2 separate regions of the Homo sapiens genome follow, and region 2 is linked to region 1. Evidence: promoter capture Hi-C in human tissues and cell types (Jung and others, 2019). All regions are on one chromosome and are shown on one strand. The core of a region is centred on a gene start or on the middle of the fragment in contact, and the rest is flanking DNA. Distances in the headings are between cores, read along the strand shown.

Region 1 (2,884 bases), core at 385-2,884:
TGAATTTCTCAGTATTTAAAAACTTGACCTGGCTCTAAGCATGAGACATCACAAACGACTGCTTCTATTGGACTGAGAAATCAAAATATCCAAATCATTGTAGCCCCAAATAGCTGTTTAAAATGTGTATGTTCTGTATGTCCTCAAAATAGGTTTACTTTTAAACCTGAATACTGAAGAAGAAATAGTAAGATTCAACAAGGAATGCGTATTGTAAGACAAATTAAGTCAAGCTTTCCAAGCTAAAATAAAATTGCACTGGATCTAAATTAATCTTATGCCATATTTAAGGCCCTCTGTTCCAGCCTTTTTAGAACAATTGTGTCTGCTCCCTTGCCAAAAATATTTATTTTCAATCACTCCTTATTGTTTTCATTTATTGGCTTACATCACAAAGAATGTTTTCTGATTCAGAAATTGACAGGAAAAGAAGGCACAAGTACTATTTCAATCATCTCCTCTCCAGAAAATTACATCATATCCCCAGTGTTGGGTTCATATGGGCTTAAAGTTGAAATCCTGTCTTACATGATCACTTTGAATGCCCTTTTCACATTGATAAACACATCAATAAAATTTAATGAAACAAGGAACAACCTTCTTTCATTATGTAAGCCTGAAATGGGTCCAATACTGCAATTTTGATTTTTTTTTCCATTTTCAAAACACACTAGACCTACAGTATTTAATGTTTATATTTACCAATTTGCACTTCTCCTAGTCTCTAGTTTACCCAAGACTGAAAGGTTGCCATAGTGCAAAGAAAAACAGAAAATCTTCCCAATGACTGCAGAGCTGGAGAATGCGAAATACTTAGGTACGCAAAGCATTGTAGCAGGAAAGCAGAAGGAGGTGGTCTATAGATGACAGAGGTGGTGCAGACAAATGGACATTCAATAATGTGCAGCGTGAACAGGGAAAAGTTAAAATGGCTGTGAAATAAGCAGGATGAGAAAGCTGGTGCTTGGAGTGATGAGAGAAGTGGAAAAAGTTGTAGCTTGAAAGGCAGAAGGTAACTGACTTCATGACCTCTGATGTTGAGGATACAAAAGGCCTCCAAATCTTCATCGGGATTCAAGGTTCTGCATGACGAACATCGGCCAAAAAAAATCAGAAAACGGTAGTTCTTTGTTCGCGGGCCTACACGTAGGGGAAAGCTGCCCCTCCGTGGACTTCGTAGTGGCCTGGACCTTCGGGCGTTGTCTGTCCAGGGGCGCGTCTCGACACCTCACCTTTAAGTGAGAAAAGGAACGCCGACCTACCTCGCTGAGGATGTTCTAAGCCCGCTCTAATAATAAGCGGCAGCCTAATACTAAATGCTTGTGGCAGCTGGGTCCGGGGAAAACGGGCGAATTCTCCTTCAGGCGGAATCACTCCAGCCAGGGAATAGAAAGGCCGGGCCAGGAGGGGTTCCCCTCCTGTAGTTTCGGACCATACTGGGGAGAAGCAGAAAAGGCCCGTAATGCGGAAAAGAGGGGAGAATGGGTGCTTTCCTCCTTGGGGCTGAGGCAGGAACCTCAAGAACCAAGTCGGAAATTTTCCTGCGGAGGGTGCCGCGAGCGTCCCGGGGTCGCTCGGCCCCTACGCGCTCAGCTGCTAGCTGCAGGTGCCTACGGAGACCTGGGCGTCATAGCAACCGCGCTCGCCGCAGAGACGCAGACGCGTCCTTCCGGCGGGAACCATAGAGACGACGCACGCCAGTGGAACCAGAGACTGTGGTTCTTGTGGAGACTGTTATTATGTCTCACACCATTGGCCTTCGGGTCGGGGGCGGAGTTGTCCCGGCCGTATCGATAGTACAACTCATTCCATTGGCTTTGGAGACAGCTGTAACCATGGTAACATGTCGAGCGTTTGCGACTTAGCGAATACATTTTGTCTTGGGGCGTTCTAGCTCTCAAAGAACTTCCCGCCAGGACTCAGCTGGAGCCCCTGCCTACTAACCTTGGATTTATTTTTCTACAAGTTCCTTCATTCTTAAAGGGGCAGGAAGTGCTAGCTCAAGAGCTCTGAATTTTAGGCCTAGATCGTGTCACTAGCCACGTGGGGCACGTAAGATAAATCACAATTTTTGGATCCAGCTTATTATTGTAAAAAGGAAGAAACTGGGCTTGACTAGAATTGTCCCTAAGGCTGAAGCCCTTTAGAAGTCCTAAGCACTGAAAATTCAGGTAAGATGAACGTTATCTTCCCCACCTATGTAATGCAAAATAAAAACTTATAAATGACACAAAATTTAACATACTCAATTTATATCATCTTTTTAGATGCTCTTATTGCAAAATTCTAGTTAATTATCAAACTCGATTTTAGTCATGTTTTGGGGGCCCTTGCTTTGCTGGTATCCCAAACACAACATTTCTTGGTCTTACTCTAGTTCCCCAAGAGAATACTTCACAAATTTTTGCTGGTTCTACATGCATTATCCGGACGTATTTTACTCTTTATATAATAAAGTGCCTCAACCTCTCCTTCTGGCACTAGACCTCTTGCAAGTGTTTTTTTCTGAACTAAAAGGCTCACCACCAGCACTTGTAGCCCACTTCACTCCTGTTTATCAGTTTAAGTATCACCTACTCAGGGAGACATTCCTTGATCCTCCATCCAAGATCAGGTTCTTAGTTACCCTCATTGACTCATGTTCCTTTTCTTTATACACTTCCATTTGCTATTAAAACACACACACACACTCTCCCCCACCCCCCTGGAATTTTTACTTGTGTAAATAATCTAAGTGCTCTGAATATAAATTAAACTGAAGTGGAAAACACTAAATAATTTCATGTAGAACACTGATTGTTTTTAAGCGTTAACAAGACAGGATATAAAATTCCCAAGGGAGGTAATAATTATGGTAAAGACAAACATTAAGATCACTTCTACT
Region 2 (3,028 bases), core at 1-2,500, 41 kb before region 1:
TATACATTTGTCATTAAATTCTAGTTTCATTGGTTATTTTTAAGTTTTTTTTCCCTACATTTTAGGCTAGCCCTGCTTATTCTTGTGAATCAAGTAATGATTTCCTGCAGCTTGGGAAAAAGAAAAATGTATGGGTAATGTAAAAATCTGGATCAATTATCCTGCAAATAATTGGCCAGATAGTTCTGGCCAATTATCCTGCAAATCCTGCCATGTAATAAAAGTGAGTAGGTTGCTCATAACGCAGAAATTTCTTTAGGAAAATAAAACCAAGGAACTTCATAGACCTTCCAAAAGGGAAATTCTATATCTTGGCAACTAAAATTTTAGATGGAAATGATCTACTACACCACCCTTGTGGGAATCGCTACACACACTCTACTATTTGTGGTAGAGTTATACATGGTAGCACCTTCTAACTGAAATATTGGACAGAGAGTTTCCACTGCTGTAGTATTTTGCTTAATTATTATCCTTATAGCAGGAATAATAGCTACTGACAAGAGGTAAACATGAAGGTTTCACTATTGCTGAGTCCACCAGGACTTTTTATTGGGTTTGGTAATATGTCACACCCTAGCTATGCAAAGAAGTTTATAAAGAAAATAGATTTTATATAAGAAAGGATCTTGTATGGTAAAATTTTATCCTGAAGAGAATAACTGCTTGTTTAAAAAGAGGGATGTTTAGGAAAAGTCAGAAAGTTTAAACATGTCATAAACGGTCTGTGGAAGTCACAAAAGAATTAATAATTGCAGGAAAGATTTAGCCAAGGTTAACACTAGTTACTCTAGCCACCCAAATCCAATGCCACTTATCCTTTTATACTAACATTATTAACATTTGTTAATGTTACTTTTATATTAACACTATTAACATTTCAGCAGCATCTGGTGGAGGCAAATGAGTATTACAACCCATTGGAATGGCAGATAGCAATCAAACTCCAAATGGTGCTGCAGACAGAACCATGCATCGACATGCCTTTCTTCTGAGGACCCTAAGAGAAGCCCCAGCTGGTGTTCTCCACAGGGCACCCCTTTTCTGCAGAAAGTAGTGAGAAAGAGTCATCACCTAAAACCCCTTGATAACAGGTGTTGGGAACAAGCCCCCTGAAATCTGGCCCCAAAACTGACCATAAACAAAATCTCTGCTGCACTGTGACATGTTCATCATGGCCATAATGCCCACGCTGGAAGGTGGTGGGCTTACCGGAATGAGGGCAAGGAACATGCCCTCATGTTTTGGCCCACCCAGGGCGGAAAACCGCTTAAAGGCATTCTTAAGCCACAAACAATAGCATGAGCGATCTGTGCCTTAAGGACATGCTCCTGCTGCAGTTAACTAGCCCAACCTATTCCTTTAATTTAGCCCATCCCTTCGTTTCCCATAAGGGATACTTTTAGTTAATTTAATATCTGTAGAAACAATGCTAATGACTGGCTTGCTGTTAATAAATATGTGGGTAAATCTCTGTTCGGGGCTCTCAGCTCTGAAGGCTGTGAGACCCCTGCTTTCCCACTTCACACCTCTATATTTCTGTGTGTGTGTCTTTAATTCCTCTAGCGCCACTGGGTGAGGGTCTCCCTGACTGAGCTGGTCTCCACAGTTAGGGTTACCACTCCTGAGGGGGGAATAAGATAGGAGTTAAAAAGAAATTATTTAGGCAGATAGTGAGGGTAAGGAAGTCCTCATTAAGGTTTTAATTTTAATGAAAAGCAGCCCCCAAATCATTTTCTTCTCTAACAAAGAGCAGCCTGTAAAATTGAGCTGCAGACATAGACAAATAAGCTGGAAGCTTGCAAAGGTGAATGCCAGCAGTTGTGCCAATAGGAAAAGGCTACCTGGGACTAGGCATGATCAAAATGGCAGCTCCATCTTCTCTTCTCTTTGCCAGCCACGTGTACAGTATGGAGCAGACAAGATGGCGCTGGCCAAGTAGAAAGCCCATTTGCATATTAAGATTAGGGTGGGGTGACAAGCCTTCCCCACATGCTATGTAAACGTCACACCTAGTTGAACCAATCTGTAGGCCCTACATAAATCAGACACTGCCTCCTCAAGCTTGCCTATAAAATCTGATGCAGTCTGCTGCAGGCCAGCTTTTATCTTTTGGATGCCCCTCTCTCTCACAAAAGAGAAAGCTGCTCTCCTCTCTCTTTTCCTCTGCCTATTAAACTTTCCACTCCTTAGCCCACCCACGTGTGTCTCTGTCTTTAATCTTCTTAGTGTAAGATGACGAACCCCAGGTATTTACCCCTGACAACAATGCCACTTCACTAAGGGTGGGGTGTACTGGCTCATGTCTATAATCCCAGCATTTTGGGAGGCCAAGTGGAATGATTGCTTGAGCTCAGGAGTTTGAAACTAGCCTGGGTGACATAGCCAGACCTTGTCTTTACTAAAAAATCACAAAAATTAGTTGAGTGTGGTGGTGCGCATTTATAGTCCTAGCTACTCAGGAGGCTGAGGTGGGAAAATTGCTTGAGCCTGGAAGGTCAAGGCTGCAGTGAGCATGCACTCCAGCCTGGGTGACAGAGTGAGACCCTGTCTCAAAAAGAAAATCCATACAATAAAATAGTCAGCCACAGAAAGGGATAAAGTACTAATTCATACTACAATATGAACTTTGAAAACATTATGCTAAGTGAAAGAAGGCAGACACAAATGTCCACATATTGTATGGTTCCACTTATGTAAAATGTACAAGATAGCCAAATTCAAAGGCAGAAAGTACTTTAGTGGTTGCCAGAGGCTGGGGGGAGGGGGCAGGTAGAAAAATAAGAAATGGATACTAATGGATAATGGATAGAGTTTCTCTCTTGGGGGATAAAAATTTCCTGACAAGAATTCACGAGGGAGGTTCCAAGATGGCCGAATAGGAACAGCTCCAGTCTACAGCTCCCAGCATGAGCGACGCAGAAGATGGGTGATTTCTGCATTTCCAACTGAGGTACTGGGTTCATCTTACTGGGGCTTCTCAGACAGTGGGTGCAGCCCACGGAGCACGAGCCGAAGCAGGGCGGGG

What was found. The method cuts DNA at HindIII sites, captures the fragments that hold promoters and counts their contacts. A contact is called where the count stands out against the background at its distance.
Region 2: a contact is called between a fragment that was not itself captured here and the fragment with the promoter of CCDC30 in region 1, in 1 of the 25 tissues and cell types used here (pancreas).

Annotation. Positions count from the first base shown.
Region 1 is chr1:42,462,036-42,464,919 of GRCh38, reverse strand. It overlaps CCDC30 (coiled-coil domain containing 30), which reads right to left and starts at 1,634. Exons shown (of 21, transcript NM_001395517.1): 1 at 1,022-1,634. It also overlaps a transcript of PPCS not described here. RefSeq lists a silencer at 1,688-1,737. The HindIII fragment of the contact is 7,916 bases long and covers 1-2,884 here.
Region 2 is chr1:42,502,440-42,505,467 of GRCh38, reverse strand. The region is part of intron 6 of CCDC30 (coiled-coil domain containing 30); the gene reads right to left. Among named protein-coding and RNA genes, the nearest start is that of CCDC30, 41 kb to the right of the region's middle. The HindIII fragment of the contact is 3,216 bases long and covers 1-2,858 here.